Linked DNA regions of Homo sapiens: region 2 is linked to region 1. The links are contacts of gene promoters, found by promoter capture Hi-C in blood cells and fetal thymus (Javierre and others, 2016). All regions are on one chromosome and are shown on one strand. Each heading gives the region's core, a stretch centred on a gene start or on the middle of the fragment in contact. The rest is flanking DNA. Distances are from core to core; before and after follow the strand shown. Region 1 holds the start of EFTUD2 (elongation factor Tu GTP binding domain containing 2). Region 2 overlaps DCAKD (dephospho-CoA kinase domain containing).

The links. Contacts are between HindIII fragments. The CHiCAGO score rates a contact against its expected background, and 5 or more counts as called.
Region 2: a fragment that was not itself captured here is called in contact with the fragment with the promoter of EFTUD2 in region 1 in 10 of 17 cell types (endothelial precursors, M0 macrophages, naive CD4 T cells and 7 more); the score reaches 7.1 in endothelial precursors.

The regions. Positions count from the first base shown.
Region 1 is chr17:44,896,177-44,903,238 of GRCh38, reverse strand. It overlaps EFTUD2 (elongation factor Tu GTP binding domain containing 2), which reads left to right and starts at 3,794. Exons shown (of 28, transcript NM_004247.4): 1 at 3,794-3,870. It overlaps DNAAF19 (dynein axonemal assembly factor 19), which reads right to left and starts at 3,510. Exons shown (of 4, transcript NM_213607.3): 1 at 3,380-3,510; 2 at 2,098-2,249; 3 at 1,587-1,719; 4 at 1-874. The coding sequence starts at 2,240. The coding sequence ends at 422. GFAP (glial fibrillary acidic protein) reads left to right here. Exons shown (of 9, transcript NM_002055.5): 9 at 1-80. The HindIII fragment of the contact is 5,429 bases long and covers 1,540-6,968 here.
Region 2 is chr17:45,020,157-45,027,700 of GRCh38, reverse strand. It overlaps DCAKD (dephospho-CoA kinase domain containing), which reads left to right. Exons shown (of 5, transcript NM_001288655.2): 5 at 2,977-4,357. The coding sequence ends at 3,268. Among named protein-coding and RNA genes, the nearest start is that of DCAKD, 28 kb to the left of the region's middle. RefSeq lists a silencer at 5,320-5,669. The HindIII fragment of the contact is 7,872 bases long and covers 1-6,137 here.

The DNA.
Region 1 (7,062 bases), core at 2,545-5,044:
TTTGGGGCTATAAACATTCTTGTTAAGAGCTGTGGAGATCAGTGTTTGTTTACCATAAAGATTTTGCTTTTTCCCTTTTATGAGTGGAGGCTGTAACTGGTATAGCCAGCATTTGGTTGGGCACACACTCATCTCTCAAGGCCAGTGGGCTAGAGGCTTGGCAGACTCTAAGGGTGGGAAACAAAACCGCTCTCAACTTCCTGAGCTCTTGACTGTCCATGGATACACACAGTTCAAAACAGCGAGACACTGAGGGACTGGAGAAGTGGGGAAGACTTGATTCCTGTTTTTGCTCTGAAAATTCCAAGTTGAGAAGGGAACCAGGTGTGGGTTTCTTATTATGGTCCTGCAGAACCCCCAAGACAACAACCAAAAAACTGCCTCCAGTGACCACTGGGACCTCTGAGGGTAGCTTGCCGCATCAGTCAACCTGGTACAGCTCCAGCAGCTCCTGCAGGAGCCTCTCCTCCTCCTGGAGCCCACCAGACTGCTCCTCCAGACCCTGCTCCTCCCAGCTGAGCCCCTCCTTCACGGATCTGGGGTTGCCCATGGCTTGCAGCTTCTGAAACAAGCCCTTGCAGCTCTCTCTCTCTGCCCGGCTCAGCAGGCTTAGGTTCAGGGTGAAGCGCCCAGTGCTCGCCAGGCTGCATAGGATCCCCAGCACCGCTGCCCGGTCAGCCGGCCCCACGTGATCAGCCAGTGCCACCAGCAGCTCCCCAAGAAGTCCAAATCCCACATCTGTCTGGAAGAGGCAGCCGAGCCTTGGACCCCCAAGCTGCAGTAGAGCCTGGTAGCGCTCTGGCCCACTTGGCAAGTGTCGTCGCCAATCACGATAGAAGTCAGCAGACGTCTCGGGCTGGAGGGGGGCTTTCTCCTGGACCACAAAGGAAGGAAAGGGAGTCAGGAGCTCTTCCAGCTGTTCTGCAACAGTGACAGGGAGGGGAGCCTGTAGCTCTTCATCTTACTGTCTTCATCTCACTACTGTCTGAGCACTGGGAAAGCTGTGGTCCTTGGCGGCCTCATTTTCAGATGAGGAAACTGGGGATGAAACAGGGAGGGCCCCAAGGAATCCACGCCATGATTTGAGATTCTCATTTATACTGGAATTTTCCTACTCATGAATGGAGACATAGCTCTGGTCTTCAAGAGTAAGTCAGGGTTTACTGTAAGTCGGGTGGATGGGTTGATTGGAAATCTCAGGAAGAGAGAAAGGAACTCAAGGATCTGAATGTTGGGGTCTCTCTCTCAACACTGCCACAGGATCATTACACTAGACACCATACAACCCAGAGGCAGAGCATCCCAATTCTGATCTGAGAATGAAAGTCAAAGGACTAAGGGAAGCCGACCTTCCTAGCCCAACTTTCTGACTCATTCTGCCCACTTCAACTCAGCTTTGCCATCTGCTGTTTGTTTTTCTTTCTGGGATTGGAGGCAGAAACCTATCTCTGTTGGTTTAACATGACAAATAAAGAAGAGGTATGTGTGGTTAAAAAAACAAAACAAAACAAAACAAAATGAAAAAACAGGATTGAAGCTTTAGGGCAGAGAATCCTGCTGGACTAAAGGGGCAGGGCCTCACCTACCGGGGAGATTTCAGTGGCCACATCCTGGAAGGTCCTTCCCTGAATAGTGTGACAGTTCCAGGGCACAGTTCTCTTTCCTCCCATCTTATCCTTCCGCTCCAGTGGCTTCAGATGTGATGCAAGGACAATACCCCTGTAGGCAAAGGACAGAAATTAGGCAATGGACTTAATGCTGTGTCTGTGGGTGTGAGGCAGCTAGACTTTGCATGGTATAGGATAAACCTGTTACGGACCAATATGACCATAATAATAACAACAGCGATAGCTGACTGCTTTCAAGCACCTCACATGTGTCAGACACTTGCTCAGTCTTATGTGCAAGAACTCATTTAATTATAACAGTTACTGTTCTACAGATAAATAATTGAGACTCAGAGAAGTTAAGGAAATTGCATAAGATCAAACAGTAGACGGTGGGGCCAGGACTGAAGCCCAGAATGGTTTGATTTCAGAGTTAACTACTATAATCCACCATAACAGGAGGGCCTGAGAAAAATGGCAGTGAGCCAACCTGAACTCCTCATAGGAAGCCACCCTCTGTTCCACTGCCCGTAACTTGGCAGCATTCTCCCGTTTGTACTTCTCATCAGCAGTGAGTGCAGCCTGCAGCTCTTTCTCCAAAGCCTTGAAGTTGATGATGTCATTCCTTTCCATGGCCTGTGCCTGGGAAGGCAAAGGGAATACATGTCAGTGGACAGTCAATATCAGGGGAAAGAGGGTACCTCTGAATTATTCACCAGAACACAAAATGACCCCAAAGCACTCTGGACATCATGTCACTCAGATTGGGAGGTGTTACAAAAATCTGGTTTTCTATTTTACAAAGACAAGTTGAATTTCACAGTGAGGACTTACACAAGACTTGTCCCTGAAAATAGAATACAGAGTCCTGACTTTCAATTTGGAGTTCTGTCTTAATTTTGCTCTTTGCCTCTAAAAATATTTTTAATTTTGGTGCTTCAGTCGAGGAGGCATTGGGATCTCAGAATTCAGTTTCTTCACTCTTCCCCCATAGGATTGTTCTACAGCAAGTCGTTTCGACAGGGGACCTCACACAAAGGCAGAACTCTTGTTAGTTACCCTTGAGCTCGGGGATAAAGTTTCATTCTTCATTGAATGTCTTTAATGAGGAAGGAGACTTTCACCCAAACCAGATGCAATGACTGAGCAGGAAATCAAGTAGAAGGGGCAAAGGAAGGAGCTCAATGACCCCATCCCCAAATCCCTCTGTCCAGCCCAGGGCTGGAACAGAGGTCCCTAGGTACCTGGGCAATGCCTTTAGTTCTATCACTGTACTTCTGTAGTTTCTGCATATCTGAGGCTGACTGATCATTTCTACAGAGATATTCTTTTCTTTTTTTTTTTTTCTGGCTCTGTTGCCCAGGCTGGAGTGCAGTGGCGCGATCTTGGCTCATTGCAACCTCTGCCTCCGGGGTTCAAGCAATTTTCGATCCTGACCTCAAGTAATCCGCGCGCCTCGGCCTCCCAAAGTGCTGGGATTACAGGCGTGAGCCACTGCAGAGAGATTCTCTACGTGGGTTCTAGTCGTGGCTCTGGCATTTACTTGTGGGACCTCTCTGAACTGCAAACTCCTAGTGAGTTGAGCTAGATTTTGTGGCGGGGTCATCACCAACAGCCCTAGCGCAAGGAAGCAGGAAGTCCCCAACCAATCCCATAGCCACCCTACCCCAACGTAGGGAATCTGAACGCCAAGAAGGGGCTGGGGTGGCCAGTAACCGAAATCAGGTGTCCAGTTCTCAGCCCTCCCCAGGCATTTAATACATAGAACTAACCCTTCCGTCCCCTTACTCAGCCTCCCGGACCTTCACCCCAGCAGTCCCGGCCTTGGTCCCCTTGCTTTCTTTGGGGATCCCCTGATAAACCAGAACAGGAGGGCAACCCCGCGCAGACCACGCCCGCAGCTGTGGTTGCCTAGCAACTGCGCTAACAGCCTGACCACGTGATCTGCCCGAAGGCCCCTCCCCCCATTTTCAGGGTGGTCCCGAGGCGCCTGATCAGATTCGTTCATCCTCAGCTCTCACCCTCTTTGGAGCAGCCCACGTCTTGGGCTACTCGTCTTGGGGACCCGCTACTCCGCCTTGCCAGTCCGCGGCGGGCATACCTCGGAACTGGTCCTCAGGCAGAGGGTTGTCCTCCCGGGCAGAAAGGCGACAGCGGCGTCTGCGGGGTCCTTCCTGGCGGCGGGCGCAGGCGTTTCCTCGGCGTGGGGCGGAAGCACGATCTCCGGCAGCGGCCTGGGAACTCTTAGCTGAGCAGGCGAGAGGTAAGTTGAAGCGGGTCAGCGGCACGGAAGGGTTGCTCCAGGTGGGATAGGAAATTAAAAAGCGTCAGATCTGGAAGGGGCCTTATATGCTATTGGCCCCTTTCGCTTTACGGATCGGTAAATTGAGGCCTGGAGCGGGAAAAAGAATGGAAGACCCTGTCGTCCTCGTGCCTTCCCAAGGCTTCCGAAGCGCGCACACACGCACACACCTCGATTTCGGGGCTGCCTCTATAGCCTCAGTCCGTAAAATCGTATCGCTAGGTAGGAGTGGTGCTCTAACTGTCCAGTCCCCTCGCTCACTTCCTCTTCTATCCGTGCCGCTTTCAGCCGTTCTTTGCCAAGTTCCCTCCGAAGTCCTCTGAGCTCCTGCATTGTAGCGGGAAGCGGCAGTGAGGTTTGTTACCATGAGTCGCTAGTTTTGTGTAACTGTGGGCAAATCAGCTATATTCTGTGTACCTTGTTAGAGTCATTCATTAGTTCAGTAAATACTTATTGAGGGCTTAGTCTATGCTAGGCACAGTACTAAGTGAACAAAGTCTTTGCTTCAATTGTAGTTGGGGAAATGAACAGTAAACAACTAGATACAAGTCAGCTAGTGATAAATGTATAACATTTGTGAATAGCAATAAAACAGTGAAAGTGGGAAGTTGGAGAGTATGTATGGGGGACTTTTTAGAGTGACAGAGAAGATGACATTTTAGTGGAGACTTGATTGAAATAAAGGAACAAGGTGAAAAATATCAAAGGGGAGAGCGTTTTGGACAAAGAGAAAGGCAAGTGCAGTGGCCCTGAGGCAGAAATGAGCTTGGCTTGTTCCATGAACAGCTTTCTATAACAGTTTCTTCAATCGGCCGGGCGCGGTGGCTCACGCCTGTAATCCCAGCACTTTGGGAGAAAGACGCGGGCGGATCACCTGAGGTCAGGAGTTCGAGACCAGCCTGGCCAACATGGTGAAAACCCATCTCTACTAAGAATACAAAAAAATTAGCCAGGCGTAGTGGTGCACTCCTGTAGTCCCAACTACTCGGGAGGCTGAGGCAGGAGAATCGCTTGAAACCAGGAGGCGGAGGTTGCAGTGAACTGAGATCGTGCCGTTGTACTCCAGCCTGGGCAACAAGAGCAAAACTCTGTCTCAAAAAATATATATAAAATAAATAAATAATTTCTTCAATCCCTTGACTGGGGTCTTGGGAGAATGAGATAAGCATAAATGCGATAGTAGCTTTTTAGAAGTAAAAAGAATATGCATGTGAAAGTTTCCATAATAATTTACATTTAATTATTGGTCCTTGGAGCTCCAATTCTCTCTCTACATTCAGCACCCAGCAGGTGGCATTGAGGGAGTTGGAGGTATCAGTCTAATCCAAGAAATATCAGCATCTTAAAATTAAACATCCCATTCAGTTAACATTTATCCAGTTCCTACTTATGCAAGGTGCTGTCTTGGCTATTGGCTGTGTTAGCATTGGTACTTTTTTCTCAATTATTTAAAAATGTAAAATGTGGCCGGGTGCGGTGGCTCACACCTGTAATCTCAGCACTTTGGGAGGCCGAGGTGGGCTAATCACCTGAGGTCAAGAGTTCGAGACTGCCTGGCCAACATGGTTGAAACCCCGTCTCTACTAAAAATACAAAAATTAGCCAAGTGTGATGGCGGGTGCCTGTAATCCCAGCTACTTGGGAGGTTGAGGCAGGAGAATCGCTTGAACCTGTGAGGCGGAGGTTGCAGTGAGTCGAGATCGTGCCACTGCACTCCAGCCTAGGCAACAGAGCGGGACTCCGTCTCAAAAAAATAAAAAAATAAAAATGTAAAATGCATTCTTAGCTGGAGGACCATGCAAAAACAGTTGGAGGGGCCAGATTTGGCCACAGGTCAGAGTTTGTCAACTCTTGCTCTAAAGTATTAGGAGGTGAAGAGGCATTGTGTCAGCAGCATACTGTCAAATATTTGGGGAAAAGAAAGTTATTTGTACTGTTCTTGCCACTTTTTGGTATTATTTTAAAATTAAATTTAGTATCATAAAAGAAGTGAAGAGAAGAAGCAGGTGCATGGAACACAGGGTTCTCATGATCAAGGATGGCAAAAAATAATGCTAGCTAACGTTTATTGAGCCTAGGACTCTGGTAAATTCTTTTTTTTTTTTTTTTTTTTTGAGACGGAGTCTCTCTCTGTCACCCAGGCTGGAGTGCAGTGGCGCTGTCTCCGCTCACTGCAAGCTCCGCCTCCTGGGTTCACACCATTCTCCTGCCTCAGCCTCCCCAGTAGCTGGGACTACGGGCGCCCACCACCACACTTGGCTAATTTTTTGTATTTTTAGTAGAGACAGGGTTTCACCGTGTTAGCCAGGATGGTCTCGATCTCCTGACCTCGTGATCCACCCACCTCAGCCTCCCAAAGTGCTGGGATTACAGGCGTGAGCCACTGCACCCAGCTGGACTCTGGTAAATTCTTTACACAGGGTGTTTTATTTAATCCTCATAACCATTTATTCAGTGAGGATTATTCATTCCATTTTCCAGTTGAAGAATAGGAATCAGGTTGGAAGAGATGAAGTAACTTACCTCAAGTTACATAGTTGTTGGTGACAAAGTTGGGATTTGAATCTAAGTCTTCCAACTCCAGAGCCCTGATGCTCTAGTCTGTTATTTATTGCTTATAAACTATAGTTGGTGATGGTAATTAGTAACTACTATTTGTTTATTTATTTTGTTTATTTTTTTCGAGACGGAGTCTCACTCTGTCAGCCAGGCTGAAGTGCAGTGGTGCGATCTCAGCTCACTGCAACCTCTGCCTCCTGGATTCAAGTGATTCTCCTGCCTCAGCCTGCTGAGTAGCTGGGACTACAGGTGTGTGCCACCACACCTGGCTAATTTTTTGTATTTTTAGTAGAGACGGGGTTTCACTGTGTTAGCCAGGATGGTCTCTATCTCCTGACCTCATGATCCGCCCATCTTGGCCTGCCAAAGTGCTGGGATTACAGGCATGAGCCACTGTGCCCAGCCAGTTAACTACTATTTAAGACAAAATTAAATACTGATAAAGGTGCAAAAAGCTCTAGTAGGATAGAGGAATGAGAAATTGAGGAGCTAGGAAAGCTTGAAGGAGGTGGTGGCATTTGAACTGTTTCTTTGAATAGAATTTCAGTAATTGAAGTGGAGAAAACCCACAAAACACTACTTAATTACAAAGGG
Region 2 (7,544 bases), core at 952-3,451, 130 kb before region 1:
TGTGCTGTTCTTTGAGGTTGGTCTGTTTGCCGAGAGCAGAGGTGGCCATGGGTTTTGGTGGGTGAGTGGGGCTTTGTTGATTGTGTGTGCTCTCCAGGAGACCTTCAGCCCCACTCACCGGCCAGAGGAGCCTTTGCCAGAGTCCTGGGTGCCACTCATGCCCTGCTTTCAGTGGGTGTGGGTGTATAACTCTTGAGAGATGCCAGAGAGGTGGTGATGCTTTTCACCAAAGGGATCTAGGCTTTACAAAAATAAGGACTCCCTTGTGGATTTCTTTAACTGAAAGACTACCCCTGGTGCATTTGAAATTACTTAGGACATCTCCTGAAGTGTGATTATACCAAAACATGATTTCATGCTGGTTTCTTTTTTTTGAGACAGGGCTCAGGCTAGAGTGCAGTGGCACAATCACAGCTAACTATAGCCTCAAACTCCTGGGCTCAAGCAGTCTTCCACCTCAGCCTCTTGAGTAGCTGGGATTGCAGGCATGCAGCATCACATCTGACTAATTTTTTTATTTTTTGTAGAGATTGGGTCTTGCTGTGTGGCCCAGGCTGGTCTCAAGCTCCTGGGCTCAATGATCCTCCTCCTCGGCCTACTAAAGTGCTGGGATTATAGGCATGAGCCACTGTGCCCAGCCAATTTCATGTTTTTGAAAAATTTGTCAATTGTGGAATAAGTGGGTAAAAATCCTATTACAACAAATTGTACCAAGTCTTAGACTAACTAGAATAGGACCATTTCTGAGCCCCAGGAAGGGCTGTCGGAGGTGCTGCCCCACATCCAGGAGGCTCTGTGGTCTGGGCCACACCTTCAGGAGGATGTGCACCTACTGGGAGCCCCAGGCCATCTCTAATCTCACACTAGATTCTCCCACCCACAGATATGTGGTCTCCCTGATGAAGGCTGGATTTAGTCCTTGTTCTCAGCGAGGTGGGTATTGGCCCCACAATGGCCACAGTACACTGACCCCGTAACAGAGGAAATCTATAGCTCGTATAATTCATTTTCATGGCAAGTGGCTGCATTTGTTTTTGGCCTCACTTGGTCTGCTTCCCAGAATCCCTAAGAAGGGACCAAACTGCCAAGGTGGGAGGATCACTTAAGCCCAGGAGTTTGAGACCAGTGTAGGCAACACAGCAAGACCTCGTCTCTATATTTATTTAAAAATAAAAAAGCCAGGCGCGGTGGCTCACACCTGTAATCCAGCACTTTGGGAGGCCGAGGCAGGCAGATCACAAGGTCAGGAGATCGAGACCATCCTGGCTAACATGGTGAAACCCCATCTCTACTAAAAATCAAAAAATTAGCCAGGTGTGGTGGCGGGCGCCTATAGTCCCAGTTACTCGGGAGGCTGAGGCAGGAGAATGGCGTGAACCTGGGAGGCGGAGGTTGCAGTGAGCCGAGATCGCACCACTGCGCTCCAGCCTAGGTGAAAGAGCAAGACTCCATCTCAAAAAAAGAAAAAAAAAAAAAAAAAAAGTCCAGGCGCGGTGGCTTATGCCTGTAATCCCAGCACTTTGGGAGGCCAAGGCGGGTGGATCACCTGAGGTCAGGAGTTCAAGACCAGCCTGGCCAACATGGTGAAATCCCGTCTCTACTAAAAATACAAAAATTAGCTGGGCATGGTGTTGCACGCCTGTAATCCCAGCTACTTGGGAGGCTGAGGCAGGAAGACCTCTTGATCCCAAGAGACAGAGGCTACAGTGAGCAGAGATTGTGCCACTGCACTCCAGCCTGGGCAAGCGAGACTCCGTCTCAAAAAAAAAAAAAATACAAAAATTAGCTGAGCTTAGTGGCGCATGCCAGTAATCCCAGCTACTCAGGAGGCTGAGGCAGGAGAATCATTTGAACCTGGAGGATAGAGGTTGCAGTGAGCCAAGATCACGCCACTGCACTCCAGCCTGGGCGACAGAGTGAGACTGTCTCAGGAAAAAAAAAAAAAAAAAAAAAAAAGAAGGAACCAAAATGTAGTGATCAAACCCTTCCATTTTATAACTGGGAAAACTCAGGCCTCGTGACAAGGCAGAAAGACCCCAAATGGTAGAAAACAGCTGCTGCAACCCCTTGTGCTCTTGTCCTCACTGAGGGGCTGAAGTAGCTCTTAGAGCTAGAGGGGTGTTAGAGGTAACCCCGCTCCAGAGGACTGACTGTAGCCCAAGGCAAGAGAGGGAGTTTCCTGAGGAAGGACCCAGATGGTGACCTCAGGGTGGGTGAAGGAGGTATTCTTTGAATTTCTCTTGGAGTTGGGAGACTTGATATTGTCCGACCTAATCTGCAGTGCTGAATCCTGTCCCACAACTAAGGGGGACCAATTCTCATGTCCTTGATCCTCTTTGAAGCACCTTGGGCTTGTCTGTCCCACATCATCAGTGGCATTAAGCACAAGAGATACCATCTTAGCACAATCCTTTTACTCTAAATGTTCAGGGGAGGGGTATAGCAGCAAGGAGAGGGGGTCTCTGTGATGGCCCAAGGAGGTATTTTTGATACTGAAGACCCAGGCCCCCAGGGGAACTGCAGGAAGCGTCTAGCTCATAGGCATAGGCCTTTCAGTAAAGGTCACCCATCCAGGGATCCAGGATGTAGCTGGTTCCAGGTGATGAAATCTTCCCACCTTATGACTGGGGAATGTCAGGTCTAGTAGCAAAGCAAAGAGACCCCAGATGGCAAAAAAAAAAAAAAAAAAAAGAGCTGTGGCCAAAGTTCCCCCCTTGTTTGTATTAAGGGGCTTCCGTAGCCCATAGAGCTCTGGGTTCCTCACAGTGAGTGGAGTGGGGTGTGAGGCAGCCAGTGAGCTTCCAAGCCTCCCTCCCTGGCTGTGGGACCCTAAGTAGCCCAGAGCAGGGTAGGGTTGGAGGGAAGATCCAGTCCCCATGCTCTCTGTTTCAGGCTGGGCCTGGCAGGGCTGCCTATCCCTGTAACTTGGGGTGAGAGGGAGGCAGGACCTACAGTGCCCTTTTGCCCTATCCTTAGCGACCGGGACACACAGCTGGCACGGCTGATGCGGCGGAACAGCCTGAACCGCAAGGACGCAGAGGCCCGCATCAATGCCCAGCTGCCCCTGACAGACAAGGCCCGCATGGCCCGCCATGTCCTAGACAACTCGGGCGAGTGGAGTGTCACCAAACGCCAGGTCATCCTCTTGCACACTGAGCTGGAGCGCTCCCTGGAGTACCTGCCGCTGAGGTTTGGGGTCCTCACAGGGCTCGCTGCCATTGCCAGCCTCCTCTACCTGCTCACCCACTACCTTCTGCCTTACGCCTAGTGGGGCACTCAAGGCAGGGAGCCCCAGGCCTCCATCTATCTCCTTGGAGGCTGAAGCCAGGTAACACATCCTGTTTCCTCTCAGCCCCCTCCCCACACACACACACACACACACACACACACACACACACACACACACACACACACGGACTCTCCGAATCAGGGCTGGGCCTCTGTGCCAGGCCATCCCGTCTTTGGAGTGTATCCTATTTGAGATCAAGAAATAGCCTGCTGTCCTTCCCACCTTCCCTGAGCAGCACCTACAGAACAGCAACCGTGATGGTGTGTGAAAGCAACAGTCAGAGACTGCTATACATTTCTGTGGGTGGGGGTAGGGAATACTGGCTCTGTGGCCCTCCTCAGAGCTGGGAGGCCAAGGGTTCACTGGGCTTGAATCCTCTCTAAGCACCTACCCCATTGTGGCCTAAACCTCCTCAGTGGACCACGGGAAATCATGTTGGACCAAGGGTTTCCATGTTCAAACAGTCAACAAGGCCCTCCCCTAGGTTGAGATATTTTTTATACTGAAGGCCCAGGCCCCCCAGTATGGCTTGCTGCCAGCAAGCAGCAAGGATTCTCTCGTGGGTAACGCTGTAGCCAGGCAGGACCAGCCTCTTCTGGGAGACCCCTCTCCCCACGTAGGGTTTGTGTAGTGCTCCCACATCCTGCTTATTGCCTGCCACCCCTGCTTCTCGCCTGGACCTCTTGGTATTCCGTGTACACCATCCTTGCTGTTTCTTGCCTCTGTGCCTTCAACCTGCTGCTCCTGGCCTGGGATACCTTTTATTTTCTTTTATTTCTTCTTCCTTTTTTTTTTTTTTTTTTTTTTTAACCTACAACTAGCTCTCAGTTCAGGCACTGTCTAAAGCCCCAGGCTGGGTTAGGTGGTCTAGGATACCAACTCCCCCTCAACATTTTACCTTAATCCAACAGTACAGTAATTAGCCGAAACTTGCCTGGTTTTTCCTACTAGACTGTAAGCCCTCTAGGGACAGGGACAGTGTCTTATTCATCTCTGTGTTCTTAGTGCAGAGCCTGGCCCGCTGTTGGTGTTTAATAAAGTGTGTTGATCTGAAATGCCCCAGACCAACCAAGATTCCCAGACTTGGCTTCTTCCCACACTGGGCTGGAGTCCTCCCGGAGCTCAGGGGGAGGTGAGGGCCCCAGAAGGTGCACTTGCCATCAGGCTTCTCCCTGGGTCCCAGGAGGACTGCAGCCAGGCCCGAGGCACCTTTGTGGGAGGTGGGTAGAGGGCTGAGGCAGCGTCACACCTTCTTGCCCCGCCTCCCCATCTGCCTTCCCCAACCCAATTAGACCAGCGCAGACATAAGCCTTCCCTGCCAGGGCCTGCAGACTTGCTGATGTGTTGATCCTGCAGCCAGAAGCCTATTAAGGCTAGAAATGAGTGTGACGGATGCAAATGCTGTGGTGGCCATACTTAGTGCCCCCTTTCCCAGAGCCGCTTGTGCTGAGTCTAGCTCATTAACTTGCTGCAAACCCCTAAGGGGCAAAGAAGGGCCGGGTAAGGCAGTGGTGGGCTGCCAGGTGGGTGGCCAGGCAGGATGAGGGTGGCAGGAGCCTGCCACTTCCTCGGTTTGGTGCGATCCGCCAGGACGGAGAAAGGAGAGGGAAGGTATGGACCCCCACAGTGCCCTATCACCCCAATAATTGAGGAAATGGCACTTCCTAGTATCGGCAGCATGCCAGGCACTGCTGGATGTGTAAGACCCTATAGTTAACATAACACTGATTATTTCCATCCCAGGCTCAGAAAGATGGATTTGGTCCAGGTTGCAGAGCCAGGCTTCTGAACTCTCTCCTGTGCCCTGAGCCTCTTGTCAGGAGGAGCTGGAGCCTGGGGTTGGGCCTTGGGCTCGCATTCCGGCTCCGCTTGCCATGTGACCTCCTGCCTTTAGTTTCTACTCATACATCGTTAGGCTTCATAGTGGAGGACACTGAAAACCCTTAGCAAACTGTAAAGTTCCAGAGAATTAACCTTCCCTGACCCAGTGAGCTGGGTTTGAAGCAGGAATGTCAGAGCATGGCAGGTGTGGAGAAACCTCGAATTCAGCCCTGCCCTGCCCGGGCCTCGCCAGAGCTCCCTCTCCAGCTCCTCTTGCCTCCCTGCCCCAGGATCCCCTTCCCGGCCTTGGGGGTCCAAGGCGGCCTTAAAAGAAGGACTACTTTCTCCGAAGGGGACTTGAAGTTGAGGCCGCTCAGCAACTGCAGAGGTCGGGCCTCCGGGACCCAGGCCCGCGCCCGAGCCGGCGGCCTGCCGTTCGGCCGGCAGGTGGCAGCACCCTCCCGGGCTGGGCCGGGCCTCCGCGGCGGGCGCTCGCCGAGCGGCCTAATCTTCCTCCTCCCAGGCCGCGGGCGGCCTCAGACTCCTGCCGAGCAGCTGCCGCGGGAGCACGGGCCAGGTGGGCGCGGAGGCTCTGCCTGACCCTGAGCGCTAACTCAAAAGGTGCGTTGTTCGCCCACGTCCTCTGAGCCTGGGCTGCGGGCCCTGGGTGCCAAAGGGCGTGTCCCCTGCCCACCCACCGCGACGGCGACGGGACCCTGCAGCCTCCGCGTTCCGTTCCCTCACTTTGGGCCTTAGCACCCGGAGCGGAGCAATAAGACACCAGCGAGGGTGAAGACGCACACGCCTTCTGGGCGGGGGACGAAGGGCGCAGGCAGGCCTCTAAAACACCCCCACCCCCAGGCCCGACTGGCCCGAAGGTCATTCGCAGTTTCACAGTTTACAAAGCACGTTCCAGTTATCCCCTTGAAATCTCCCAGCTGTGTGAGGCAGACAGGTCCAGAATTTTACAGAGGCTCAGAGGTTGAGCCAAGGGGCCTAAGTAGCCAACAGGTATAACCACCAAGCTTCTTGACTCCCAGTACAGTGCTCCTCCGGCTATCTGCACTGCCCCCATTATACACTTTGGCTCTTTAGTAATTGACAACTCTTCTTCAAATGTTCATTCTCTCTCTCTCCTCATGGGGGGCAGGGCAGAGGCAGGGAAAGGTTTAGGACCTTCCATGATGAGCCTCCATGGCTAGAAATTGAATGGGAGCAGGATAGGCGCGCTGCTGAGCGCCCCTAGTTCTCACCAAGGCACTTTAGGTCAGAAGGAAACAGTCTCAGAGCAGGAGGGGGAATGCGATGGCAGTGATGACTTCAGGCCATGGGGTCATATAGGAGTGGGCAGGGAGACCCCCGGACATGGTGGGAGAGAAGGAGCAAAAGGAAGGAGGTGATGTGGTGCTATAGGTTGCTTTCCTGCTCCTTCCAGGAGAGACGTGGCTGGTGGTTCCTCATCCCACCTGCAGAGCTGAGGCTGCACCCAGCTGGGACCCAAACCGCCTCTCTTTGCTCCCCACCTTCCCCTCCGCTCCCAGTCACTTAGATTCCAATACAATTTCCAGCTAACCAGCATGTCGATAGAACAAGTCGGGCGGCCGGATTGCTGGCCAATTACAGGAAATCATTCTGCTCCACAGCTCAGCGCTCAGGAAGGGAGAGGGAGGGAGGGAATTCAAGGGAGCAGGCGCCCAGCTTACAGGCTGGGAACGGGCTTCAGGCAGAAGGCTGGGAGTGCTGCAGCCCCCCACCCCTGAGGGGTGGGGGGTGGGGGAGGCTCCTAGGGGCAGGCCAGCCCTAGGCTCATCCTCAGCCTCATGCGGAGCTCTGGATCCAACTTCTGTGTGATGGGGAGATTGGTGCCCCAAGCCACTAAGAGAGACAGAGCTGGGAGTTGAGTGTGGTTGAGGGTCCGGCAAGCGAGGCATCTTAGTGTCAAAAGGGATAGAAGCCGAGATAGCAGGACCACCCTCTCCCAGAGCCCTATGCACCAAGGAGTGGGCATCTGAGGGCCTGGAGGCTAGGGTCCACACAAGCAAGACCTGTGCTCTAACAGCCCGCTGTGGGCCACGGGGTACCTAGGAGGACAGGGGAAGGGGTCGACAGGGAGCGGGAAGGAAAGGGGCCACAGCCCACAGCTGAGTGAACTAGCAGCAGCCTCATCTGGTGAAGGAGTAAGTCTTCCACCCTGGAAGGTGGGGCACAGAAATGTGGGAAAGGCCAAGGGCCCCCTCCCTCACCTTCCTAGCTCCTCTGCCTCAGCTCCTGCCTCTGGCCCTCAAGAAAATTTCACTCAGATGAAAGGACCCCAGCTCCCCTCCTCTTTCCTTGGATCTGAATCTACCTCTGCCTTCTATGCCGACCTGGATGCCTCTTTGCCAGCCCCACCTCCTCCCATCACATCTCTCCCAGAACTGTTCCTGTGCCCCAG